Regions from separate parts of the Homo sapiens genome. Here all the other regions are linked to region 4. Evidence: promoter capture Hi-C in 16 types of primary human blood cells and fetal thymus (Javierre and others, 2016). All regions are on one chromosome and are shown on one strand. Each heading gives the region's core, a stretch centred on a gene start or on the middle of the fragment in contact. The rest is flanking DNA. Distances are from core to core; before and after follow the strand shown.

Region 1 (4,382 bases), core at 1,605-4,104, 200 kb after region 4:
ACCATTATTTCTTAAAAATATTTCTTCTGACCCATTCTCTCTCCTCTCCTTGAATCCAATTACATGCAGACTGCCTGATATTATCCCAGAGGCTCTGTTTTTCCTCTATACCAATTTCCATCTCTCTATTCTCCAAACTGGGTAACTTCTATCGATCTGTCTTTGAGTTCAAAGAACCTTACTTCTGCCATCTTTAATTTGCTGTTAAGCCCATGTAGTAAATTCCTCATTTCAGATATTTTTCTAAGCAGTTCTACAATTTTGTGGTTTTTTTAAGTTACTGAATTTATAATAGTTGCTTTAATTCATTTTTCCGGTAGTACCAAGATGTGGATTCTCTTAGGTCAGTTTCTATTGAGAGTAAAATTTTTTTTTATTTGATATGGACCATATTTTCTTGCTTATTTGCAAGTCAAGTAGTTGTTGATTGTATGGTGGACACTGTGAATATGTTGTAAGGATTCTAGATTATACTGTCTTCCTTTAAGATGCTAAGTTTTGTTCTGGCTGGCAGTTAACTTACTGGCAGCTCTCCTTAATCCTAAAAAGGCAGGTCCAGAGCAACTCTTACTCTAGGGTTAAAGACTGGCAATAGAGATTGGCAAACTTTCTGTAAAGGATTAGACAGTAAATATTTAACACTGTGCAGGTCATACAGTCTCTATCCCAAATACTCAACTAGGCTGTTGTAGCCGCAAAGCAGTCATAGACAATATGTATATGAATTTCCATGAGTGGATGCATTTCAATGCAACTTTATTTATGGTCATCACTAAATCTGTATTTCATGCAATTTTCACGTCACAAAATATTTTTTTAAATTTTTTTCTAACCACTTAAAAATGTAAAAACTACTCTTATATCACAGGCCATGCAAAAACAGTCAGTGGACCACATTTGCCAACTCCTGCTCTGATGTATGATCCTTACTCCAAAATCATGGCCTTTCTGGCATCTCAAGTAACTGCCTAGTATGTAGCCAGATGTCTCTCCACTTTGAATGAGCTGGAATCCAACATTTCCCAGCATCATAAGACGTTCAGTATCTTTTGTCCACTCTTAACCCTACAACATCCACTATCTACTAGACCTTGCAGAGTATCAGCTATGCATGTGCAACCCAGGCCTCAGCCAAGCACCCAGGGAGAACATACACGTACACTTTGGCTCCTCCTTCTCTGATACCCTGCCTAGCAAGTTCCAACCACTTCAGCAGCCCAGAACTCCAATTTGTGCATCCTCAGCTCAACTGAACTTCTTTGCTCTGCTTGAGCTCCACTCTCCGTACCACCGTCAGGCAACCGTTCCAAAGCACATGGGGCTCACCTTGTTTGTTCCCTTTCTAAGGTTCAGTGCTAAAAACAGCTCTATTTCATATTTTTGGTCCTGTTTTCTAATTGTTGATGACTAGAGGAAAACTCAAATACCAGTTACTCTGTCACGGCTAAAAGTATATGTTAACATCAATAAATATCTGATGAATAAATGACTAAACAAGCCTTACTTCATAAAGTTCTAAGTTTGCATGACCCTCCATGATTTCCACCACCTGGTATTCCTATCTTTCTATAATCCCTTCCCCCTTGCATGTGGGCAGAACCTGTGACTTGCTTCTAACTCAAAGAATGCGGCAAAGGTGATGGGATGTTACCCCAGTGATTAAGTCATGTTATACAGTAAGATTCTGTCTTACTACCAGACTACCTCTAGACTTTCTTTGTTGCCCTGAAGCAAGTAGGCATGTTGGGAAAGTCCACATGACAAGAACTTCACATGGTCTTTAGGTGGTCAATGCAGCTTATTACTGACAGCCAACAAGAAGATAGGCCCCTCAATCCTACAACCATAGGATATGAATTCTGCCAGCAAACTAAGTCTACAAGTGGATTCTCCCTCAGTTGAACTTCCAGTTAAGAACGCAGCCCAGCCAACACCCTGATGGCACCCTCATAACCTAGGCAGAAGATCCAGGTATAAGCTATGCCCAGAATCCTGACCCACAGAAACTGTCAGAGAACAAATGTTGTTTTAAGCTGGTGGTAATTTGTCAGACAATAGTAGATAACTAATACAACATACTATTGATAGATACTATAAAACAGCTACCAACATTTATAGCTGGGAAGTGCAGGCAGTGATAGAAGCAAAGGAGAGACCATGAAATACACTCAAGAACTTCAGGAAAGAAAAGCTACCACAGACCTATGTCAACAACACATAACAGGAGGAGGGACATGATAAATTCCTTCAAAGAAACACAGTGGCTCTTGGCCTAGCAAGAAAAAACTTGTCCATCAGAAAAGAAGCTTGCTCAGTCACACAAAAATACTCAAGGAACAGTCAGGACCAATGCAGGGCTTTTTCAAGCATGGTAAGCAAAACAGGATTTGCCTGCTGTGCTTGAAAGACAGTTGGTTCAAAAACCTAACTTGTGTTATCTCTGGCATTCAGCAGAGTTCAGCACATAAGCACTTATCTGAATGTTGATCTTATTTTACTTAACAAATGTGAGCTCTTACCCTTAATCATTGCTGTCAACATTCAAAATTAAAATGTCTCCTCTCCTCAAAACCAAAACGCACCAAATCAGCACCATGTTACCAAGAGGAAGAAAGAAAAACACCAAGGTTTTATAGGATTTGTTTACTCTATTAAACTTTATTTAGGATTTGCAACAGAACTGGGCATTTTAAAGACCCCACTATTTTCACCTGATGTCATTAAACTTTTGAATCACATTAACTCCTTTTTTAAAAATTCCATGCACTGTTCTCAACATGGACAAAGAGAGAAAAAATTTTTTTAATTTTAAAAAATCTACATACTGTAAGTAATCTTTTAACTGTAATGTCGCTTTGCAAGCAGCATGCCTATAGAATTAATGAAAAAAAATACAGAGAGAAAACGCAAAGGTGGCAAAATGTTAAAAAGCAGCAAATCCAAGTGAAAGGTATTATGAGTATTCACTGGACCACAATTAACTTTTTTTTTTTTTTTTAGATGGAGTCTACTCTGTTGCCCAGGCTGGAGTGCAGTGGCATGGTCTCGGCTCACTGCAACCTCCGCCCCCCAGGTTCAAGCGATTCTCCTGCCTCAGCCTCCCGAGAAGCTGAGATTACAGGCACCTACCACCATGCCCAGCTAATTTTTGTATTTTTAGTAGAGACAGGGTTTCACCATGTTGGCCAGGCAGGCCTCAAACTCCTGACCTCAAGAGATCCACCTGCCTCACCTCCCAAGGTGCTGGGATTACAGGCATGAGTCACTGCCCTGCCGCACAATTAATTTTTCTAATATATGTTTAAATTTTTTAATATAAAAAACTGGGGACACAGAAATGAGATAATTTTCTTGGTAGTCTCACCAAGTTTAGGAATCAAAATGTCCTTAAAAACCAATGAGAAAAGCTTGAAGAAGGTACCATTTTCATTGTTTTGGTAAACAAAACATACATCCAAATCTATATGTTATAAAGCAATTAACACTCTACAATTATATTTATCTCCCAGAAAATAGAAAATACAAAAATGCCTATAAAAATATTAATTTTCTGATTCACCCTTAAAAGCTTTTGGTTCTACAGACAATTACCATTAACTTTTAGATCTTCATTGTTCTCTAACTCTTGTTAATCAACATGTGGTCTGGTGGAACAATATCATAGCATTACCTATGCACTTGTAAGAAATGCAGAATCTCTCTGAATCCAACCCAATGCTGCAGAATCAGAAACTGCACTTTAGTAAGAGACACAGGTAACTTGAAAGCACATTAAAGTTTGAAAATCACTATTGTAGACATTAAAATGCATTTATTATAAACATTATAAACCTATACAAATCACAAACATCAAAGTCAGTTAAAAATTAGAGGAAATATGTCTGTTTGAAAACTGTTTAACAGTGTTTTTTTGAAGAGTTTAGTCTGAACTACTGATCCAAATGTGTGTGTGTGTGTGGCAGAGGCAACAGGATCTCTTAGAAGCTTTGATATTGCACAAAAAAATCTAATCAAAATCTATTACAACCTTTGAAAACAATTGTAAAAGAAATTCTAAGAAGTCTGGTTAAAACATCAACATTATCTGGCATACTCAATACAACACCACAGAAGATAAATGCAGAGACACCAAGTGACACAAAATTGTTACTCAATACATCCAATCTGTTGAATGTATAAACTATTTTCTACAAACTTTAAAAACCACTTCCTCACTAAAAGCATTGATTTTCTGCCTGAAAATTAACACTTACCCAGTTTCATTATAATCAATCAAAAATCTATAAGGCAGTACAATAGAGGCAGGCCTACATCAATCAGTACAAGCTATCAATTAAACATGTGAAGACAACCTTTGAAGTAACCTAGGTCCTGATGCTCCC
Region 2 (3,934 bases), core at 970-3,469, 230 kb before region 4:
TGACGGCCCAAGGGTTAGCATCAGATCCTACTCACAACTGGAAAACAACAGTGCATTAGAGCAGGAAGCTGCCAACTTGGACATCTGACAAGGACAGAAAGTAGGGCCCATAATGTGAAAGAGCTTGCCCAAGTGCCAAAGGAAGTTGATTTTGTGCAAGATGGATGCACAGGCTTCTGCCACAGGCACATCAGCCAGATATTGGGGTTTTTCTCCGGTAACTTTCCTATGGGGACTCCATGTGGACGCATTCCTGTGTATAAATATGTGTGTTCTGGATAATAGTAATGGTAGCCTTTGGGTTCAAAGAGAAAATGCTGGACTTCATAAAATCCCTTTATGAACTAAGTTGAAGTCTGATATTTGAAGAACTGCATTAAATAGGGCTAGAAGAAGTAGCTGCATTCATAACACTGAGACATTCATAACACTGCATTCATAACACTGAGCATTCACAGCTGAGAGGATGCACTTCCCTACTGAATCACTTTAAGACAGAGTTGCAAATCCCATTATCTGTGAGTGCTGTGTGAATACATATGCCAAGACGAATAGTGAACACAGGAAATTGTGCTGAAAATTAATCGCCCTCAGCAATCAATGGGGATAGGCCCCACACGAGAGAAGGTCCGACTAAGGATGGAGCGCACTGCGATGAGACCTTTCTTATATGACCTAGGTGCTCCCAAGACTGCAAACTTCCACTCCTTTGTATCTTTCTTTTCAGCCTGCTAACTGAACCGTGCTAATGGATATCAGAACAGTCCTTGTGGTTTTTCCTATCAAATCTGTTAAAAGGGGAAGAAGGTTCCTGTTGTTAATTGCAGGGGATCTCCTATTCTTTGTTTTAAAGAAAGTTTAAACAAAATGCTCACCCACTCTGGGGCTTTAAAGAAAGTTCAAACAGAACAAAGTTCTCTTGCCAAGGTTTAAGGCGAATCTCCTCCGTCCAGATGGCTTCCTCAGGCAGGCCAATGTAAGAACCCAGACACTCACCCCTGCTGCCTCTTAATGCCGCGCCTTGATTGTTGCTAACGATCCCCAGCTGTCTTTCGTTGCTGGCTCCTTAACCTCTCTCTGCCGGCCACATCTGCCTGCAACTCTGAGAGGGGAAGAGGAGATGCTGACAAAAGAGGCATCCAAGAGATGCTTTGGAGGCTGCCCCCAAAGCAACGCAGATGGGGTCCCGAGTCGTGGGACTGTGCACCAGGAACTTGATTAGAAATTAATTCTCCACAATAAACTTCAGGAAAAAATGTGAATGTCATATTTCATATCAAGGAAATAAACCTGATGATGGGAAATGCCACTAACCAAGGCAAATCCACTAAGAATCCAGGAGTCTGGCCATGATACTTGGCAGGTCACTTTCCCTATTGACTAGTCTACATATTTACTGGGCAGCAGCCCGGAATGGGGTGGTGGCCATAAGAATTCCCACTGTGTTCCAGCAACATGTGTCCACTTTCTCCACGGCCTTCCCCAGCTGCCCCCTTTATTCCAGCCCATCACCCAGCAGACATACTGACTTTTGATCTGTACCAGATACAAGTGGGTCACGTCTGCATCCTGTATTAATTTAATGCTTCCCCTTTGTTTTCTGTGTGTCCTACGAGTGTCTAGCTATGTCAGCCAGTGGGTCTGAATATCCCTGCCTGCCCGGATGTCCATTCAATTCAGACATTAAAAAGTGCACCTTGTTACTATCACCCCATAGGGTGCACTACAGTCTAATAGATAAATCCACATCATCAATAGTAATCTAAGTACCCTCTCTATGCTCTGTACCCCTTCTTCCCCAAACCCTATTTCTTTTTTTTTTTTTTTTTTTTTTTTTTTTTGATGAGCAGTCAGAACACACACAGCATTTATTGGAAGTTTTCCATCTTATATGGGCACAGTTTGTGGCTCCCCAAAACAATTAGAATAGTAATATCAAAGATCACTGATCACAGATCACCATAACAGATATAATAATAATGAGAAACTGAAATGTCGCAAAAATTACCAAAATGTGACCCAGAGACAGGAAGTGAGCGCATGCTGTTGGACAAATGGCACTGATAGATTTGCTTGACACAGGGTTGCCAGAAACCTTCCATTTGTTAAAAAATGCAATATTTGCGAAGTACAATAAAGTGAAACACAGTAAAATGAGGTGTGCTGGGCATCCTGCCATTTATGCACATGCCTCTTTAGGTAGAAAATAATCCTGTAACAGTTGAGGCTGTGGTTGCCTTTCTGAGACTCTTGTCTACAGAAATGGTCAACTGGTGGCCAGCTGGCCAAAGGGCTAATCTAGCCCACAGACATGTTTAGTTGGGGCTACATAGAGCTTTTTACAAATTTGAGTCAATATTTAGAAAATAAAAGTCTGGATTTTGGGATTCCCTTACAAAAACTGGAAAATTTGGCCACACTGGGTCATATTCCCACATAGTCGTGGTGGTTGGGGTTCAGTAGCAGTAGCTGCTGCCCCTTAAGACAGGTCCCCATGGTCCCCACTCAGTTGCTTCCTTATTTATCTTACAAGCCTGGCAAGGAATTTGAGTTGAACTGATCTAGAAGATTGGTGCTAAGAACCAGCTCAGTGGCTTAGCTGTCCTGGGGTCTGCAGGAGAAGGCTTCTTTGTTAGGCCCAGGCAGGAAGTCTGGGCATGGATTGAGGTTTTTTTTTTTTTTTTTTTTGACCTTTTAAATATTTATTTATTTTTTATTTTATTTTATTTTATTTTATTTATTTATTTATTTTTAATTGATCATTCTTGGGTGTTTCTCGCAGAGGGGGAGTTGGCAGGGTCATAGGACAATAGTGGAGGGAAGGTCAGCAGATAAACAAGTGAACAAAGGTCTCTGGTTTTCCTAGGCAGAGGACCCTGCGGCCTTCCGCAGGGTTTGTGTCCCTGGGTACTTGAGATTAGGGAGTGGTGATGATTCTTAACGAGCATGCTGCCTTCAAGCATCTGTTTAACAAAGCACATCTTGCACCGCCCTTAATCCATTTACCCTGAGTGGACACAGCACATGTTTCAGAGAGCACAGGGTTGGGGGTAAGGTCACCGATCAACAGGATCCCAAGGCAGAAGAATTTTTCTTGGTACAGAACAGAATGAAAAGTCTCCCATGTCTACTTCTTTCTACACAGACGCGGCAACCATCCGATTTCCCAATCTTTTCCCCACCTTTCCCCCCTTTCTATTCCACAAAACCGCCATTGTCATCCCTGCCCGTTCTCAATGAGCTGTTGGGTACACCTCCCAGACGGGGTGGTGGCCGGGCAGAGGGGCTCCTCACTTCCCAGTAGGGGCGGCTGGGCAGAGGCGCCCCTCACCTCCCGGACGGGGCGGCTGGCCGGGCGGGGGGCTAACCCCCCCCCCATCTCCCTCCCCGACGGGGCGGCTGGCCGGGCAGAGGGGCTCCTCACTTCCCAGTAGGGACGGCCGGGCAGAGGCGCCCCTCACCTCCCGGATGGGGCGGCTGGCCGGGCGGGGGGCTGACCCCCCCCCACCTCCCTCCCGGACGGGGCGGCTGGCCGGGCGGGGGGCTGACACCCCCACCTCCCTCCCCGACGGGGCGGCTGGCTGGGCAGAGGGGCTCCTCACTTCCCAGTAGGGGCGGCCGGGCAGAGGCGCCCCTCACCTCCCGGACGGGGCGGCTGGCCGGGCGGGGGGCTGACCCCCCCACCTCCCTCCCAGACGGGGTGGCTGCCGGGCGGAGATGCTCCTCACTTCCCAGACGGGGTGGCTGCAGGGCGTAGAGGCTCCTCACTTCTCAGATGGGGCGGCCGGGCAGAGATGCTCCTCACCTCCCAGACGGGGTCCCGGCCGGGCGCTCTCACATCCCAGACGGGGCGGCGGGGCAGAGGCGCTCCCCACATCTCAGGCGATGGGCGGCGGGGCAGAGACGCTCCTCACTTCCTAGATGGGAAGGTGGC
Region 3 (3,823 bases), core at 51-2,550, 240 kb after region 4:
AGGCCCAGGTAAGAGGATAGCTTGAGCCCAGGAGTTCAAGACCAGCCTGCACAACATGGCAAGACCACATCTCTACAAAAAACACAAAAATTAGGAGGGCATGGTGGCATGCGCCTACAGTCCCAGCTACTCCAGTGGTTGAGGAAGGAGGATTACATGAGCCCAGGAGGTCAAGGTTGCAGTGAGCTATGATTGTATCACTGCAGTCTAGGTAACAGAGAGAGACCCTGTCTCAAAAAAAAAAAAAAATTGTTTTGGGGGAAACTATGTATGAAGAAACCCAATAGGTGAAAGGTGATTACTTGATTTGACTTAAAATTCAACTTCCTGTAATTTTTATAAATTGACCATTTTCTTTCTTTCTCCCCTTGTCCTTCTCTCTTCCTCACCCATCTACAACATACAACAGAAATAACTAACTCTTCTTCTAAAAGACAGCATTTCAATATGAAAAGGTAGCTCTTGTGCCCCGTAATGCACTCAGGGATAAACATTGTCATTTCTTTCAGCCATTCTTCACATGCCATATCTCTCCTCTGGATATGGTCCAGTTATCAGCATTCCTATTAAATAGTTGTTACACTTGTTTCTATATGATGATCATGCTCCTTGAGCAAAAATTTGGAAATAAAGGGAATTGTATGTTTCGTCTCTGTCATTTCCATTTGTGAACATTATGCCTTTTCTCCAAATCAGTGGCACTGCAAATTTTTAATTTTTTTTCTATGAAGATAACTTTTAAAGAGCTCTTTTTGTTGGCCTTACCATTTCCTCCAAGTTTTAGCTTATTGGGGGTGACTCTCTGTTGGGAACAAGACCCCCAAAATCTGGCCATAAACTGGCCCCAAAACTGGCCATCAACTAAATCTCTGCAGCACTGTGACGTGTTCACGATGGCCATAAAGCCCACGCTGGAAGGTTGTGGGCTTACCGGAATGAGGGCAAGGAACACCTGGCCCGCCCAGGGCGGAAAACTGCTTAAAGGCATTCTTAAGCCACAAACAATAGCATGAGAGATTTGTGCCTTAAGGACATGCTCCTGATGCAGTTAACTAGCCCAACCTATTCCTTTAATTCGGCCCATCCCTTCATTTCCCGTAAGGGATACTTTTAGTTAATTTAATAGCTATAGAAACAATGCTAATGACTGGCTTGCTGTTAATAAATACGTGGGTAAATCTCTGTTCGGGGCTCTCAGCTCATTTCTGTGTGTGTGTCTTTAATTCCTCTAGCGCCGCTGGGTTAGGGTCTGCCCGACCGAGCTGGTCTCGGCACTCTCAGGCAGCCTTTGACTCGTGCGAACTTGTTTATAAAGTCCTCTTTTCAACAAAAGTCAAGTACACAACTCCTCCCAAATTCTGGTTTCTAAGGAGAGACTCCAAAGAAGTCTTTGTTAATAAATTGCTCTCTTTTCTTTTCACTATAATAGTTTGTAGTTGTAAAGTCTGGCTTTTATTTTTGCACACCTCACAAAGTGCAAGACTCAAAACTGTGGGATCGTAACTTTATTCTAAACTTATTTAAATCTACTTTCCTAAAATGTAAGTTATCTTGACTGCCTCCATGAACCCTAACCATCACTTGTTATCATGCTATTACTTCCTGACCCAAGGTCCCATTCTGCTCTCTTTTATCTCTGTCCTGTTGGTTTCAGAGGAATGATTTAAGCCTAATTTAATTCTTCTATTAATACTTCAGCTCTAACACTTCTGACTGCTCCAACTAATTATCCCATCTCCCAGATTTCCCTTACTACTAGTTTCTTCCTTCATCCTATACATATGCTCAAATGTTCTCCCATCCTATTAAAATGCTTCCTTTAACCTTCATCACTTCTGAACTATTAGGATAGCTTCCCCCCATCTCCCTGCCTCCAGTCCTGCTCTACCTGTCCCAGCATCCAACCAGTGTATGTTATCTAAAATGCATTCTAACAATGTCACTCTTCTGTTTAACACCTTTTATTGATTCCTTCTAGGCAAATTCCAAATTTCTTAGCATGGTAAACAAGGTCTTTTATGGCTAATTTCTTCTTTCCTTCTAGCTTCCTTCCCCTGCTCTCCCTGCCTTGCGCTTCAAAAAATCCAACAGTATCCAATATTTTGTAAGACTTCTGAGCCCTAAGGCTATGCCATGCTTCTATGACTTTGTTGCTGTTGTCCCTGCTGCCCGGAACACTACCCCCACCAGCACCATCACCACATTCTTTCTTCTTCACTTGGCACACATCACTCATTTTTAAGACTCAATTCATGTTTTGGAAAGTATTTCCTGACCCACCCAATTTGGATTTGTTGGTCCTCATACTTTCCTCGGTAATTTTTTGATCACCAATGCCCAGCATAATGCCTGGCATTTATTAAATGTTTGTCAAAGTAACCTAAGCTGAACATGCGCTCTCTTCTAGGATTCCCATCAGTTTCACCTCATAATCTAAATTGTTCCATATAGCTTAGAGTTTAGGTAGAAAGTGGTCGTTTTCTTTGTTACTTCATCGATGTCTGAGGGAGAAAATCAGCAAGTCACGTTGAAAGTAATTGAGATGCACTGCCATTAGCAGAGTGGGTCTCCAGCAGTCACTAGCAGTTAAAGTTTTCCGCCATCACCGTATCCTGTCTCAGTGTCAGTTTTAGGATCTGTACGGGGAAAGGCATCACTTCTTCCATTTGGCTGCACACTCTGCAGTGCATTCCCAGAACACAACCACACTTCTGTTCCTCTATCCGTTTATCCTTACTCAAATGATACCTCTCCCCTGCTAGAATGGAGACTCCTACAAAGCTGGCATGAATTCCTATACAAAAAGGCTACAAACTGGAGTTCCACCTGCTGGAACTGGAGAACCTGTATGATTGCTGTAACATACATTAACCTACTTCAGCATACAAAATGTAATATTATGAATGTGGTAGTAGTACATAAGCTTCGATTCTACTCACACAAACTGAGAATTCTAGGCTTCCATGATGGTCAGGCAGCAACACATTAAAAAGACCACACTTCAGGAGCACATATCACAAGGACGCCTAGTATCACCATCTTGATCCACATCGCTTGGTTTGCTAATTAGCATAGTGAACACCAGAGATGGGTTTTTATTTTTGGCTTCCCCAAAAGTATGATAAATGTTAAAAATGGGATCTCATGTATGCAATTAGCAAAATCTAAAATATATGGGATTTGGGCTGGGCACGGTGGTTCATGTCTGTAATCCCAGCATCTTGGGAAGCCAAGGTGGGCAGATCACTTGAGGTTAGGAGTTTCAGACCAGCCTGGTCAGCATGGTGAAACCCCGTCTGTACTAAAAATACAAAAAAATTAGCGGGGTGTGGTGGTACACGCCTATAGTCCCAGCTACTTGGGAGACTGAAGCACGAGAATCACTTGAACCTGGGAGGTGGAGGTTGCAGTGAGCCGAGATCGTGCCACTGCACTCCAACCTGGGCAACAGAGTGAGACTCCGTCTCAAAAATAAATAAATAAATAAATTTAAATACACTTCAGCTGCTTCCGAAGTGTGGTCTTTCTAATGTGTTGCTGCCTGACCACCACTGAAGCATAACAGAGGCATAGCTCGTTATATAGTGCTTCACCTTATTGCTCTTCGCAGAGTCTGTTTTTTACAAATTGAAGGTTTATGGCAACCCTGCATCAGGCAAGTCTTTTGGCGCCATTTTTCCAACAGCATGTGCTTACTTCATGTCTCTGTCACATTTTGGCAATTCTCCCAATATTTCAAACATTTTCATTATTATTATATCTGTTATGGTGATCTGTGATCAGTGGTCTTTGATGTTACTACAGTAATTGTTTTGGGGCAGTA
Region 4 (4,060 bases), core at 602-3,101:
ACTTTTTGCCTATTCCCTTACTCTATCATGGTTGACTCACCAGCAGTTGCATGATGGTGTATGTGGCCTAAGAACAGAGTTTGATTCTAAAAGGGAAGTGAAATACTCTTTAACATCTGCAAGTGAGACTGTTTGAACAGCAGGCCAGCCTTCAGTATGACTACATTGTTTTTCTGTCCATTGTGGTGCTGACTCAGCATCAGTTAATAAACCCTCTTGAGCAGGCTGGATTTCTCTTGTTTAATTATCAGCTTGGAGCTTTCTGAGGACTCTTAGGAATTGTTCATTCAGTTTTCCACCCCCAGCAGATCTGCCTTCTAAAAGTCCTGCTTCCTCTTGGTGCTAGCGTCCCCTCTGGCATAACATGCAATCACAGGTGGGCCACGCAGCAAGCAGCGAGTGTGTGCTAATCATGTCCCCTAGTGGGAATTTAATTGTTCTGTACTGAGAGAGAGATTGCAGCAAGACTTTAGACACCATTTCCTGGCAAATAATCTTTTGCCTCTCCCCCTCTCCCCTAAAAAAAATTCTAGAAAAGTTTTCTAAAAGTGAGAAAAGAAATTTTAAAGATAAACAGACATATTTTTTAGGATTGAGTTGGGCTTTTGTTTTGCTTTGTTTCATTTCTTCCTGTAAACAAATACTCAGATGTCCATTTCATTGTATGACTAAGTTGGTATCATTAGGTTGGAACTGGGTGTGTGTATGTGGGTGTGTGTGTGGGTGGATGTGTGTGCACACGTGTATTTAAAATGTTAGAAAAGACATTGCAGGTCGAAGGAGAAATGATTTTAAAAAAACCTACCTATGGTAAGGCAAGCAGGAAAAATGGAAGACCTGGATTTCAATGATCTAAATAATAATTGAAATGGGGTGTTTGCTATAAACATTGTTTCTCTGAATTAAAGGATTCCTTGCTGAAGGCACAAGACCATTGAAGGAAGTAAAGCATCTGGTTTGTTTTGTAATGAGAAGCAGGAATGCAAGGTCCACGCTCTTAATAATAAACAAACAGGACATTGTATGCCATCATCACAGGATGTCCTTCCTTCAACAGAGGACTGACTGGGCTGGAGGAAAAGCTGGCCGGGGCTCAGAATAAGCCCCACTAATTACTGCCTCCGACCGCTTTCCACTTGCAGTGATCAGTTCAATATTCCTCTGAACTGTGAAACGACTAATGCTCTACATTTTACTTACACTCCTGGGAAGTCAGCCTGTGGGTTCTGGGAGGAGAGGAAAGGAAAACAAACAATCTGTAGAATTATAACTTTTGCCTATTTCCCTATTTACTAAATAGTTAAAAGAGGAAAGTTAGTTCTGCCAAGTTTGAACGTTAGCAGGAGAAACGGAATGTTACAACTTTTGGGGCGGGGGGCGGGGAAACGTGCGTTACATACACAACAGCTTGAGGACCAGACAGCTCCACTGTATTACACTAGCTGCAAAAACAATTTAACTTGCTCTTTTGAAGTAAGATTTGTGTCTTTTGTACCTGGGGATTTGAGCTGAGAAATCAGAAACTGTGTAGGTAAATTTTAAGTTTCCTTAATTTAAGGAACGTGCGCCCCCTAATTCTGCCGCGCCAGGAAGGAGGGCGATCTGGAGTGTTTAGAATACAATAGAGCCCAAGTAAGCGTTGAGGTTAAGTGCCTTCAAAGGGAAGTAAGAAGATTCCAAGTCAATGTTGAAATACACATGCGAAGAGAGGAAGCTCTCGGCGGCTGTGCTAGCAATCTGGGGGAAAGCCCTGGGCTCGGCCAGGTGGTGTTGGCCACGTTGGCCACGCCCCCACTTCGCGCAGCCGAGTGGCTAAGGAAATCTTAAGCAGGGAGGGGAAGCCAGACGGTTAACACAGACAAAGTGCTGCCGTGACACTCGGCCCTCCAGTGTTGCGGAGAGGCAAGAGCAGCGACCGCGGCACCTGTCCGCCCGGAGCTGGGACGCGGGCGCCCGGGCGGCCGGACGAAGCGAGGAGGGACCGCCGAGGTGCGCGTCTGTGCGGCTCAGCCTGGCGGGGGACGCGGGGAGAATGTGGACTGGGTAGAGATGAACGAGACTTTTCTCAGATGTTGGATATTTGCTTGGAAAAACGTGTGGGTACGACCTTGGTAAGGAACTTGAATTTTTTTTTTTTAATTCTGAAATTGATCTGAAAACTTTATTTTCTTTTCCTTTATTGTTATTATTATTAATTTTTTTTGGCTAATGTCGCAGTAGAAACATGCTTCTGCTTTAGTGCACTTAGTGCTGTCAAACATTTGTGAGACTTTCCTTATGAATCATTAACCCTTTCAGTTCTAGACATAATTGCCAATTCATTGAAATTTCAGTAGTGGTTCCAGCTCACACTCGTCAAACTATTCCGGGTTGGCTGAAGTTTTCTATTTTATTTTATTTTTAACATGTGTTTGGCGTCATGACTCTACATGTTGGAACTAAATAAAAATAAGCAGGTTTGCTTAAATCATAACTGAGGGAAAAACAACTTTGCATCCAACTTTTTTTTTTTTAAGAGCATCCTATTTAGAGAAGTGGAAGAATGTAAAAACCTCCTTGAAGGACTTCCACAGAATGTTATGTTTACATTTGAACAAACACACATTCTTACATGGAAATGATACCCATATTCCTCATTTTTATCAAACATGTCTATATGAGAAAACCCTTACAGAAGTTGTTTACCTTTTTTTGCCTTTGGAAAACAGTTTTTTTCTGAGTGTGAGGGAGGATTTTGGGGGAATATCCTCATCAATGTACAAGTGGAAGCAGAGCTTGTCCTCCAAGTCTTCTAAATTTGTTATAACTTTAGTTACAGTAAACTGTAGTACATCAGTGACTTCTGGGAATTCATACACTTTCAGATTTAAATGGAAAGTGCTATTTGTAGCTGAGGACTCCTAAAGGAATTCTCTCCAGGGAATTTTATTAAACGGTTTTATGTTTTGTTTTTGCCTTTTCAATTTGGTATGAGATGCTTGCAAGTCAGAAGACACTGCAGGCTGTTTTCCCCTTCACCCATTTTTCCTCCTCTTTTCCTGTGGTCCAAGTGATTTCTAAGAGGCCGTAGCTCAGTGATGCTGGCAGGATGCAACCCTTTTCAGTCTTCCATGTGAGAGGATGAAAGAGAGCTCGCAGCAGAGGGAGGAGGCAGTTGTTTTGAAAGTTGTTTTGCGTTGGGAGCTGGTGGGAAAGTTCGGTCTTCCCCATTTGGAAAAGGCAGGCTGGGTTCCGCTCCTGCACCACACGCGCTTTCCATTTTTAGCTTCATTCAGAGGCAGACAGAGCTCCTTCCTCTTCCTCTCCTTGTTTGTGACACTTTTCTGAGGCAGCTTTTCCACAGTGCCGAGGGTCTGGCGGCCATGACCCCAGGCATTCTGGGACACTGGACTGTGTGCCCAGAACATTTTTCTGCCATGAGAGGTAAAGCCAGGGATTGTTCAGAGGTGATTCTTTTTTTTTTTTTCCTTTTCCCCACAGTGAGGTTGCCACATTCTTTTTTTTTTTTTTTTTTTTAACTAAGAGTAGCATTTAAAAACCTTGCTTCTTTTCAAGGCAGTTTACTTTATACGGCTTCTTGGCTCTTTCTCAACTGTACCAAGCACTCTGCATCTGCTTTTAAAGTCTTCAGACTACTGTATTAGTCATAGCCTCTCAGAAGGAGCCACAGGAACGGCGGGACAATGGGGATTAAAGGCCTTTCCTTTCTCTTCCAGGCTGCCCCCAAGTGTAACTCCAGCACTGTGAGGTTTCAGGGATTGGCAGAGGGGACCAAGGGGACCATGAAAATGGACATGGAGGATGCGGATATGACTCTGTGGACAGAGGCTGAGTTTGAAGAGAAGTGTACATACATTGTGAACGACCACCCCTGGGATTCTGGTGCTGATGGCGGTACTTCGGTTCAGGCGGAGGCATCCTTACCAAGGAATCTGCTTTTCAAGTATGCCACCAACAGTGAAGAGGTAAGCCTCTGGTTTATTGACAAGAAGATTGGGGACCTGGTGCCAAATCTCCCTACTTGCCCTTGAGGCCTTGTATATCTCTGAAAACCTCTGAG
Region 5 (3,909 bases), core at 879-3,378, 170 kb before region 4:
GCCTGGAAGAAAGAAACCAAAATAGTCATCTGATCTCAAGCTGAAGCTACTAGACCAGCGGTTCTCAAAGTATGGTATTTGGACCAGCAGTGTCATTATTACCAGGGAACTTATTTGAAATGAAAATTTTCGGGCCCAGCCCCAGGCCTACAGAATCAGAGTATGTGGGAGTGGGGCCCAGCAATCTGTTTTAACAAGCGCTCCAAGTGATTCTGATGCAAGATTTAGTTTGAGAACCACTGTGCTAGGCTATGTCTGAAGCTTCTCGTGCCTCAAATTCTCCAGCAGCAAAGTAGGAATGTTAAAGTCTTGTTATTTTCCTCTATCCCTCAGGTCACAAAGACATAGCCTAGGCTGGCTGATACACACTTAAGGTGGTTCACCTAACTTAAGTCTACTAGTGTTTAAGGTAAAATACATGTTCTTTTTTTCTTTGAATTTGGATCATCTGCATTTAGAAGAAAAGATTTGTTCTGTTCTAAATTAAATGCAGTTGACCCTTGAGCAATACAGGTTTGAATTGCATGGGTCCATTTATATTGGATTTTCTTCAGCCTCTGCCACCCCTGAGACAGCAAGACCAACCCCTCTTTTTCCTTCTCCTCCTCAGCCTACTGAACATGAAGGTGATGAGGATGAAGACCTTTATGGTGATCCACTTCACTTACTGAATAGTAAACATATTTTCTCTTCCTTGTGATTTTCTTAATAACATTCTTTTCTTTAGCTTATCTTATTATAAGACTACAGCATATAATACATATAGCATATAAAATATGTGTTAACTGTTTATGTTATCAATAAGTCTTCCAATCAACAATAGGCTATTGGTAGTTATGTGTTTGGGGAGTCTAAAGTTATATGTAGATTCCTACTGCTTGGGAGGTCAGAGCCCCAACCCCCATGTTGTTCAAAGGTCAACTATACATATTCATAAGGATTTTATTCAGCTTCATCTATGGAATGATCCATAGAGTCCTTAGGATAGTAGAGATAAGATATATAACTTGTGATACAGATTAGATCCCACCTGGGCCAGAGCCAAGATACATGTGTCTCTGGCGTGTGGAATTTGGCGATATCCAAATCCCATCCAAGTATCTATTTGCCCTCATAATTTACATAAGGACCAAGGAGAATCCTGGAGAAAATCTCAAGCCATGCCCCTGGCTGAGAATTAGATATTTGAGACATATCTGGGAGACTTGGTGGAGGCAGGGAAGGAATGAAAATAAAGAAGAATAAAGAGAGGAAGAGAAACCAGTGCACGTGCAAACACACACACCCGAAAATGAAGTTAACTATAAAGGAAAGTAATGTGAAAAACCAGCCATGCCAGCCACAATGCCCTTCAGACCCTGAGCTCCTGAGCAGAGGTGAGTCCTGACTATGGCATGGCAGCTGGCACATCAATCATTTTCCCCAGCTCTCCTAGAGGCACACAAGCACCCCAGGGATGCACGGTGGCTGGGTTCACTGGCCTTATGCATGGAAAGTGCAGGCTCATTAAGTTCTATAATGTTCCATAGGTCCAAGCAATTCTCCGGAGGCACAACATTCTTCCCACTTTGCAAGAGAATGCCAAACTCCTGAGGAGAAGCAGGAGGACTGCCAGCTCTGGAGTCAGATAAGGAACTGGCAGTACAGCAGAAGCCAGGAATTTTGTAGTCAGGGGCACCATCAGAGCTTTTATTAGGCACCCTCTGTGGACTTATTCAACACTTGGGGAAGGAAGTCTGTGCAAAGTCCTGGAGTTCCCAAGTGAGCTAGCTGGAGCTTGGAGGCAGCAAGATTCTGGTAATTATGTTAATGTAAATTTATTGTCCCCATAAGATGGTAAGGTTGAAGGATGTGTGTGATACCTTTTGTGCCCTGTATCAGATTCTCTTTGCCCCACCTTTCACTTATTCCAAAAACCACTGTAGCGACTGGTTTTGCACAGACTCCAATCAACCTCACATAAGTGTAACCCAAAGAACCATTCCTTAAACAAGCCTCTTGCCTCCCACTCCAGGGCTTCCCTGTTGAGTCTGGGGAGAGGGGTTTTTAACACACTTGGGGTGGAATTTTGACCAATGGGGTTAGGAACTGATTAATAAATGTTTCCATCTTCTCCCCCCTGCAACCTCCAAATGAAATGGAAAACCATTTCAATCAGTTTCTCAAGCAGACCCAGGGTGATCAAGTACCAGTGGCCCACAGGGTGATTGACTCTATATTACACATCTGCTTTGTGTCTCCCTCCTTCTCTAGTGCCTCCTGGAATAATTGCACTTATAAGTTTGGTTCAGACTCTGCTTTTTTAGGAACCCAGGCTGAGGCAGGAATATTTAGGTCTCATGTGACTTAGAAGCAATAATACATTTGCTGTCAATATAGGACTTGTATATCTTTCAAGGCAAATAAATGGTATTATTTCCTATTTTATGTGATTTACTATATAGTATAATAATTTCATTATATGCCTCTAGCAAAGATATAATAATCCTCATCATTTCCCTAGATTCCTAATCTTGCATTTTTTTTTCCTTTTTTTTTTTTTTTTTTTTTTTGAGATGAAGTCCCCCTCTGTCGCCTAGGCTGGAGTGCAGTGGCGTGATCTTGGCTCACTGCAACCTCCGTTTCCCGGGTTCAAGCGATTCTCCTTCCTCAGCCTCTCGAGTTGCTGTGACTACAGGCGCACATCACCACACCCGGCTGATTTTTGTATTTTTTTAGTAGAGATGGGTTTTCACCATATTGGCCAGGCTGGTCTTGAACTCCTGACCTTGTGATCTGCCTGCCTTGGCCTCCCAAAGTGCTGAAATTACAGGTGTGACCCACTGCACCCGGCCGATAGTTAATTCTTTATTCTGTTTTCTGTTTCAGGTTTAAATACCAAACTCTAAAGATCATTCTGACACAGTTTGCAGGCAGAACTCAGGGAGAATATTTTATTAAGGGGAAGGAAATAAACACAGCTAATATTTTCAAAACAATCTATATGCCCAAACCCTAATTATTTAAATTTTTTTTATTTTTATAGATTCAGGGTGTACATGTGCAGGTTTGTTACATGGATAGATTGAATAATGGTGAGGTTTGGGCTTCTAGTGTGCCCATCTCCCACATAGTGAATGCTGTACCCAATAGGTAATTTTTCAGCCCTCATCTGCCTCCCAAACTCCTCCTTCTTGGAGTCTCTAGTGTCTGTTATTTCCCTTTGCATGTCCATGTGCACCCATTGCTTATCCCCCTCTTATAAGTGAGAAGATACAGTATTTGATTTCCTGTTTCTGAGTTATTTCACTTAGGATAATGGCCTCCAGCTCCATCCATGTTGCTGCAAAAGACATGATTTCATTCTTATGGCTGCATAGTATTCATATATATATATATATATATATATATATATATCTCACATTTTCTTTATTCAATCATCCATTGATGGACATTTGGGTTGATTCCATGACTTTGCTATTGTGAATAATGCTGTGATAAATATACGAGTGAAAGTGTCTTTTTGATATCCAATTTCTTTTCCATTGGATAGATACCTAGTACTAGGATTGCTAGGTCAAATGGCAGTTCTATTTTTAATTATTTGAGAAATCTCCATGCTGTTTTCCATAAAGGTTGTATTAATTTACTTCCATCAACAGTAGATAAGCATTCCCTTTTCACTGCATCCTCGCCAACATCTGTTGTTTTTTGACTTTTTAATGATAGCCATCTGACTGGTATGAGATGCTATCTCATTGTGGTTTTAATTTGTATTTCTCTGATTAGTGATGTTGAGCATTTTTTCATGTTTGTTAGCTGCTTGTACATCTTTTGAGAAATGTCTATTCACATCCTTTATCCACTTTTTAATGAAGTTATTTTTTTCTTGTTGAACTGCTTGCATTACTTATAGATTATGAATATCAG
Region 6 (3,971 bases), core at 326-2,825, 180 kb after region 4:
AAGGTTCTCCACGTCCCCACCAGACTCAGGAGCCCAGCTGGCTTCACCGGGGCTGCTGGTGGAGCTGCCTGCCAGTCCCGCGCCGTGCCCCGCACTCCTCAGCCCTTGGGTGGTCGATGGGACTGGGCGCCGTGGAGCAGAGGGCGGCACTCGTCAGGGAGGCTTGGCCGCACAGGAGCCCATGGAAGGGGTGGGAGGCTCAGGCATGGCGGGCTGCAGGTCCCGAGCCCTGCCCCGCGGGAAGGCAGCTAAGGCCAGGTGAGAAATCGAGTGCAGCGCCGGTGGGCCGTCACTGCTGGGGGACCCAGTACACCCTCCGCAGCCGCTGGCCCGGGTGCTAAGCCCCTCATTGCCCGGGGCCGGCAGGGCCGGCCGGCTGCTCCGAGTGCGGGGTCCGCCAAGCCCACACCCACCCGGAACTCCAGCTGGCCCGCAAGCGCCGCGCACATCCCCGGTTCCCGCTCGCGCCTCTCCCTCCACACCTCCCTGCATGCTGAGGGAGCCGGCTCCAGCCTTGGCCAGCCCAGAAAGGGGCTCCCACAGTGCAGCGGTGGGCTGAAGGGCTCAAGTGCCCCCAAAGTAGGAGCCCAGGCAGAGGAGACGCCGAGAGCGAGCAAGGGCTGTGAGGACTGCCAGCACGCTGTCACCTCTCATTAGTATAATCTGTATTGCACTGCGAAATAACTGCCTAAATGTTTCACCAAGTTTTATTATCCATGATACTCACTGCCAAGTCTACCCAAAACACTGTAGAAGGCTATAGTCCAAATTATTACAAAGTTAATTTATTCACTTAAATCAAGTAATTTCAGGAGCAATCCTTCTCCAGAAGCTTAGCAAATTTTTTACTGCTTTATATTAAAATGCAAATGCATGAACTCTAAAAATCTCACCATTATTTTTAATTACAGAAAGAACACCAAGAGACTGATTTAAAATATATAATATATATAGTAAAATGCTTGTTTGTTCCATAGTAAAACTTAATTGAATGCTCAAGCAGGTTACAAATTTGCTTTAAGCAACTTTCTCACGAAGTTGTAGATTCTTAAATGCCACACACAGAGTTTCAGGTTGGAATTATTCACCTTCCTGCAAAACGTACTACAGGCAAATAATAATAATAACAAAAATGACCTAATTAGCTCAGCTATATGTACAAAAAAAGCAAACATAAATGAGGTGGCTCCATATTTCATTGCTTTGTATGACTGTGACACATTCACTGCCATATTCCTGAAGCTAAAATTCCTATACTAATTTGCAAAGTAAACACAGTACGAAACTAGAAGCTGCAGCATTAGATTCTAGTCTATTATGCATTCTCCATCTGCTGTCCCACACTCACAATATTTAATTTTAGCAAAATCTAATTCAGTGTATCTCTACATGAATGCCTCATTAGACATCTCAAACTTTTAGCCTCCAAGATGGCCTCTCAAATAGGCTTTACTTCCCATCTCATTATCTAATATTTCATATCTCAGTATAAAGCACCACTCTCCATGCAGCTGCCCAAATCATAACCCAGGAATAATTCCTTCCTTGTTTTTAACCCATCCTCTACATCCAGCCTAACAACAGGCTCTGCCAATCTACCTCTAAAATAAGCCCCAAATTTACTGACTTTTCTCCATCTCTCCCAACATCACCCTAAATATCACCATATTCTTATACCTAAGACTATTACTAGAGCCACTTTCATTCTGGACTCCTATTCCATTCTACATTGAACAGCTCTTATATCATATTCTACATCTCATCACTCCCCTGCTTAAAAGTCCTCCAATAGCTTAAAATCCAAATTGTTTTCCTTGGCCTACAAGGCCTTAGATAATTTGGTTCTTTCTCATCTCTCCAAACTCATCTCGGGCCACACTTCCTCCTCAGTCACTACACCTAAGACATGCTTATCTTCTTTTGACTTCTCAAAACATACCTATTGTGGACTGAATGTTTACATCCCCCTATAATTCATGTTGAAATCCTAACCTCCAACATGATAGATAAAGTGGTGGGGCATTTGGGAGCTGATTAGGTCATAAGGGCGGAGTCCTCATAAATGGAATTACTGTCCTTAGAAAACAGACCCCAGAGAAAGCTCTGTTTTAGTCTGTGAGGACACAAAGAGAAGATAGCTATGAATCAGGAAGAGGGCCCTCATCAGACACTGAATTGCAGGCACCTTCCTCTTGGACTCTCTAGCCGCTAGATTGTGAAAATAATCAGACGTCTTCCCTAATCACCTTAATGTAAACAGGTCCAATTCTAATTGGTCAATATTCTCAGCACTTTATTGCTTTCAAAATAGTATAAACGAAGCTTTGTGTACTGGCAATATCATAACCAATGAGGTTCATCCAAGACATGATAATTGCTAATGGCAAACAGCATAAAACCAACTGCCAAAAAAATGCTTTGCATCCCACAAGAACTAGATATAGACAAGTGCCATTTTTGCTACACAGAATGCTTTAAAAAAAAAAATGGTGGGAAATAGAGAAGGGTATCCTTGAAGAAAAACCTGTGTTTATCTACACTTTTAAAAGCTATGCATAGGATTAGTTCTCTGGAAGTGCCTAGAATATTCCCACTTTAGTGCCTTTGCTCTTGCTGTTCCCTCTGCCTAGGAAGTTTTTAATCCCAGATAAATATGCATGATCTCCTAAACTGCTTCAGGTCTTCATTTAATGTCATCCAATCAGTGAGGACTTCCCTGACCATCCTATTTAAAATAACAACGCCCTTTCCCAACAAAGTCCTTTCTCATCTTCCTTTGCTTTTTCTCTCATGGCACTCATCATCATAGGACACATAATACATATCACCACTGGTATAGACCACTGGTCTGATATGACCACTGGTATAGACTCCCACTTGGTCCTTTTCAATTCCCATTTGCTTCTTTCTAATTCATTAACCATACTGCAGCCAAAGGGATGTCTTAAAAAGGGAAATCTGATTCTGTTATAGGTCTGCTTAAAATGTTTCACTGGTCTCCTACCATCCCACTCTCTGTTCCTCCTGCCAGGGATTAAGTTCAATATTGTTAAAATGGCCTACAAAGCCCTGAACAGGCAGCGTCTCTGCCTGACTTCCAGTTTGACCTCCTTACCACTCTCGATCTTGATCACCACATTCTAGTCAGTTCTCAGAACTTAGTAGGCTCTTTGCTTCTGAACCTAGCCCAGATCATTCCCTCAGCCTGAAACAACTTTCATCACAACCACACCACTCTCTCTAGCCCTTCCTCCTTCCTCTACAACTCCAGTTATAAATGTAACAATTACGTAAAAGTGATCTGTTTAATGCCTGGCTCCTCTGCTACCCTACACATTCAGAGGGAAGGGATCGTGCCTGTCATATTTACCCCAGCGTCCCCTGTGCTTAGCACAGAGGCTGGCACATAGTAGGTTCTTATACTGGCTAGCTAATCCACACTACTACGGTCCGGGCATGATTCTCCTATAATGAAGACTGAATTTGCAGCCATGAAGATCAAAGACAATGAATGTTGTTTCCAAGACTTGATTAAACATGAGAGTATAAAATCTGTGAGAAATATTTGTGGCAATGGAAGAAAGAAAAATTTCCAAAAACTCACACAGACAAGGAATGAAAAATAATAGATGAAACAAGGCTGGCCATATACTGGTAACAGATGAGACTGAGTGACCGATATAGATTCATTCTACTATTTTCTTTGCTCTTATTTATACAATGTAATCTCAGTGTTCCAAAGACTGATAAAAATCTGAATTTTGCTAAAGACTGTAAAAAAGGAAGCTTATCCAATATCAGTCTTTCAATGAGAAAAAAGGTTCAAGAAGAGTAGTTATGCCTCCTACAGTTCTACTTAGGAATCTACTTTTACACCACCTGCAACTACAACAGAACCTGACACTGTAACAAAAAACACAGAAATTAAAGACTCAAAATAGATACACAGGTAGTAGCTGCATCAAGTCTAA
Region 7 (3,945 bases), core at 1,363-3,862, 260 kb before region 4:
GAAGACTTGGACACCGGGAAGGGAACATCACACACTAGGGCCTGTTGTGGGGTGGGGAGGCTAGGGGAGGGATAGCATTAGGAGAAATACCTAATGTAGATGATGGGTTGATGGGTGCAGCAAACCACCAGGTCATGTGTATACCTATGTAACAAACCTGCACGTTTTGCACACGTATCCCAGAATTTAAAGTATAATAAAAAAGAAAAAAATAGAACTACTTATATGATTCAGCAATTTTATTACTGGATATATACCCAAAGGAAATGAAATCTGTAAGTCAAAGAGATAGCTGCACTCCCATGTTCACTGTAGCACTATGTATGGAATCAACCAATGAGTCCATCAATAGATGAATGGATAATGAAAATATGGTATATTTACAAAATGGAATACTATTCAGCCTCAAAAGAGAAGGAAATTTTGTCATTTGCAAAAACACGTATGAACTTGGAGGATATTAGTTCAAGTGAAATAAGCCAGGCACAGGAAGACAAATACCACAGCATCTCACTTACGTGTGGAATCTAAAAATGTTGGATTCAGACACAAAGAGGAGAATGGTGATTAGTAGGAGCTAGCAGAAAGGGGAGGGGATTGGGGAGATGTCAGTGAAAAGATACAAAATTTCAGTTAGGAGGAATAAGTTCAAGAGATCCATTGTATAATATGGTGACTATAGTTAATAAAAATATATACTTGAAAGTTGCTGAGTAGATTTTAAGCATTTTCACAGCAGGCCAAATTTTTATGAGACTCTTAAACGTGCATATTATGGCCAGTGGAGCTTAGCTCTTCACGAATGTGAGGTGCTATCATTAGGAATAAATTTTTGTTTATAAATCCCCTTACCTTTGTTCCCCAAAACACTCATTTACTCCCACCAGGAACAAGCACTCAAACCACAACCAAGTATGATATTCAGAAGTTTTACTAGCTGAAGAAAGTCAATCAGTCCAAGAAATGTGTATGACATCTTACTTCTGTCTTCTCCTGGGTTCAGATCCTTAACTTGCTAATTCACTATAATGGGAGTTAGCAAAGCTTGGCCCTCAGGACAAATCCAGACCACAGTCTGCTTTCTTTTTTTTTTTTTTTTTTTTTTTTTGAGACGGAGTCTCGCTCTGTCGCCCAGGCTGGAGAGCAGTGGCGTGATCTCAGCTCACTGCAAGCTCCGCCTCCCGGGTTCACGCCATGCTGCTGCCTCACCCTCCCGAGTAGCTGGGACTACAGGCGCCCGCCACCACGCCCGGCTAATTTTTTGTATTTTTAGTAGAGACGGGGTTTCACCGTGTTAGCCAGGATGGTTTCGATCTCCTGACCTTGTTATCCGCCCGCCTCGGTCTCCCAAAGTGCTGGGATTACAGGCATGAGCCACCGCACACAGTCTGCTTTCATAGAGCCTACAAGCTAAAGAACGGCTTCCCATTTTTAAGTAATTGAAAAAAATCAGATAAAGATTTTCATAATATATAAATTAAATAAAATTATGTTATATAAAATAATATATAAATTATTTAAAATTCAAATCATTGGCCTTAAATAGTTTTCTTGGAAGAGAGCCACACTTATTCATTTACTTCTTGTCTATAGCTGTTTTTGTGCTACAACGGTCAAGTGTTCTGACATAAACCACATGACCTGCAAAACCAGAATAGTTCTCTCTGATGCTTTACAGAAAAAGTTTGCCAGCACCTGCACTGCATAAAGTCTGGCTGTTCCCATCCTACAGTCTGAGAGCTTCATATGTCATAATGTACTCAGTATAATTCAAATGCAATATCATTAAAAAGGACAAAAGCAAACATTTATATTGGATTTTGTGGGACAAACCTTATTCGAAATGTTCCACCATGTTGTCCATACGTAATATTCTAATGGATGGGCGTTGTCCATATGTAATATTCTAATGGTTCGGTAACACCAATACTTTAAACTTTCAAGCAACATCTCCAAATTTCCTCTTGCATCTAGAAGAGACAAAAATTCTTGTTCAGAGAACACATGCCTTGATTTGGGGCTAAGAAACATGCTGACTGAGCCTTGGTGCTCCTTACACTTAGATTTAACCTGAAGGTAAAAGTCTGATAGAAATAAGTAACCAGAAAAGCACAAACATTGAAGCACTCTCAGAAAAACTCAGCCCATTACATGTTTCTTTTAGATTATTAGAAATGATTCAGCTGCTCCAGTAACAATTTCTTTTGCCATGGGAAAGAAATCTACTCCACCTAACTGCAAATGTTTTTAAACTAAATTTCCTTCTCAAAGAGTTACCACATCTACTGTTAATAACATAACTGATTGTAAACTGTTTTTAAATCTTTTCAGATTTATTAGAGGTGGGGGGTAGGGAAGTTAGTCTAGAATGTAGAAAAGCTGCATTCTAGCTAAAGAGGTGAGTCTAACCTAGCCTTCTAGTTAGTCTAGAATGTAAAATGGCAGTCACAATGACAAGTTTCAATGGATCTCAATAGAGACTTAAGTGCCTTGCAAAACAAGACTGTCATTTCCAAAGTAGCATCCTGAAATGTTTAAATGTTTATGATAGAAACCACTCGAATCATCCCCAGCGAGTTTCTCAGAAGGGGCAGCTGGAGGAGGGAAGGGCAGCTGGAGGAGGGGAAGGGGCCGCAGGAGGAGGGGAAAGGGAGGCAGCTGGAGGAGGGGAAGGGGCAGCTGGAGGAGGGGAAGGGGCAGCTGGAGGAGGGGAAGGGGCAGCTGGAGGAGGGGAAGGGCAGCTGGAGGAGGGGAAGGGGCAGCGGGAGGAGGAGAAGGGGCAGCTGGAGGAGGGGAAGGGGCAGCCGGAGGAGGAGAAGGGGCAGGTGGATGAGGGGAAGGGGGAAGCTGGAGGAGGGGAAGGGGAGGCTGGAGGAGGGGAAGGGGGGCAGCTGGAGGAGGAGAAGGGGGACAGTGGAAGGAGGGGAAGGGGGGCAGCTGGAGGAGGGGAGGGGGCAGCTGGAGGAGGGGAAGGGGCAGCTGGAGGAGGGGAAGGGGGCAGCTGGAGGAGGAGAAGGGACAGCTGGAGGAGGGGAAGGGGCAGCTGGAGGAGGGGAAGGGCCAACCAACTGGAGGAGTTCATTATTAGATTATGTTTTAAAGGTAATAAATCCACTACCTTTTCTCAGATATTTAAAAGAACTACCATAGGAAATGGTGAAATAGGGAAGGACATTAGACTCAAGAGGGAATAATTTATTACAGTCTCAGAATTCTCTAACTCATCAGCCACAAAGTATATCTGAGGAGGCTCCATTCATTATGCAGGATCCATGTGATACATGACGAGTAAAAGGCGGGCTTCAACTCCCAAGGGGCCTGCATGCTTGTTAGTGAGACATGGCAGAACTTCACTCTAATAGGCATTTCTAAATGAAACTACTATGGAAAACATAACAGAAAAAGAAATCATACCCTGAAACCATATTATGAGTAGGAGGAGACTCAAACGTACTTTTCCTAGGGGGTTCTCAGTTGCTTTTGCTAATGAGGCAAACAGCTCTGCTCCATAGATTTTAGCTTCTGTGGATTGGAGAATGAAGCAGAAATTACTGTGTTTTTTCTCAGCTGCAGAAAAGGTAACTGAACTAGACAAGTTCTGCACCTAAGGCAGTGACTGAGCCTACAGACTCCGAGCACCAGGAAAATTGCATCAGTAGGGAAGAATCAGACAGCCATGGTGTGGATGGAGGACGAGATGAGCTGGGAGACACAAGAAACAGCACAGTGGGAGAGAGAGTGAGACTGACAAACCTTCTGTGAAAATACATCCACAGAACTGGCCAAGGACTTCTCATAGAGGGTTTTAACATCCACATTTTGTTGTGGCCAAGTTTCCAAAAGGAAAGTTTAAGGAAGAGAGTGATTTTTTTAAAATGTGTGACTAGATGTCTCAAGGGAACACCTCTTCCCAGTGTAACTATGCTCTCTATGTACCAACCACAG

What was found. Contacts are between HindIII fragments. The CHiCAGO score rates a contact against its expected background, and 5 or more counts as called.
Region 1: a fragment that was not itself captured here is called in contact with the fragment with the promoter of PRDM1 in region 4 in 1 of 17 cell types (activated CD4 T cells); the score reaches 5.9 in activated CD4 T cells.
Region 2: a contact is called between a fragment that was not itself captured here and the fragment with the promoter of PRDM1 in region 4, in 5 of 17 cell types (activated CD4 T cells, M0 macrophages, monocytes and 2 more). The highest score is 7.7, in activated CD4 T cells.
Region 3: a contact is called between a fragment that was not itself captured here and the fragment with the promoter of PRDM1 in region 4, in 2 of 17 cell types (neutrophils and activated CD4 T cells). The highest score is 6.3, in neutrophils.
Region 5: a fragment that was not itself captured here is called in contact with the fragment with the promoter of PRDM1 in region 4 in 1 of 17 cell types (M0 macrophages); the score reaches 5.1 in M0 macrophages.
Region 6: a contact is called between a fragment that was not itself captured here and the fragment with the promoter of PRDM1 in region 4, in 1 of 17 cell types (activated CD4 T cells). The highest score is 6.1, in activated CD4 T cells.
Region 7: a contact is called between a fragment that was not itself captured here and the fragment with the promoter of PRDM1 in region 4, in 2 of 17 cell types (M2 macrophages and M0 macrophages). The highest score is 9.9, in M2 macrophages.

What each region holds. Positions count from the first base shown.
Region 1 is chr6:106,284,993-106,289,374 of GRCh38, forward strand. All of the region lies in intron 4 of ATG5 (autophagy related 5), which reads right to left. Among named protein-coding and RNA genes, the nearest start is that of ATG5, 39 kb to the right of the region's middle. The HindIII fragment of the contact is 1,101 bases long and covers 2,305-3,405 here.
Region 2 is chr6:105,850,371-105,854,304 of GRCh38, forward strand. All of the region lies in intron 2 of LOC105377923 (a long non-coding RNA gene), which reads right to left. Among named protein-coding and RNA genes, the nearest start is that of LINC02836, 220 kb to the left of the region's middle. RefSeq lists a silencer at 631-831 and an enhancer at 2,660-3,161. The HindIII fragment of the contact is 8,272 bases long and covers 1-3,934 here.
Region 3 is chr6:106,327,462-106,331,284 of GRCh38, forward strand. No RefSeq gene overlaps it. Among named protein-coding and RNA genes, the nearest start is that of ATG5, 3.6 kb to the left of the region's middle. The HindIII fragment of the contact is 3,241 bases long and covers 1-2,921 here.
Region 4 is chr6:106,084,485-106,088,544 of GRCh38, forward strand. PRDM1 (PR/SET domain 1) reads left to right here and starts at 1,852. Exons shown (of 7, transcript NM_001198.4): 1 at 1,852-2,111; 2 at 3,717-3,965. The coding sequence starts at 2,070. RefSeq lists enhancers at 233-302, 1,480-2,199. The HindIII fragment of the contact is 5,820 bases long and covers 1-4,060 here.
Region 5 is chr6:105,909,876-105,913,784 of GRCh38, forward strand. No RefSeq gene overlaps it. Among named protein-coding and RNA genes, the nearest start is that of PRDM1, 170 kb to the right of the region's middle. The HindIII fragment of the contact is 3,739 bases long and covers 260-3,909 here.
Region 6 is chr6:106,269,314-106,273,284 of GRCh38, forward strand. The region is part of intron 5 of ATG5 (autophagy related 5); the gene reads right to left. Among named protein-coding and RNA genes, the nearest start is that of ATG5, 54 kb to the right of the region's middle. The HindIII fragment of the contact is 1,490 bases long and covers 831-2,320 here.
Region 7 is chr6:105,828,224-105,832,168 of GRCh38, forward strand. It overlaps LOC105377923 (a long non-coding RNA gene), which reads right to left. Exons shown (of 3, transcript XR_001744275.2): 3 at 1,542-1,970. Among named protein-coding and RNA genes, the nearest start is that of LINC02836, 200 kb to the left of the region's middle. The HindIII fragment of the contact is 3,141 bases long and covers 1,043-3,945 here.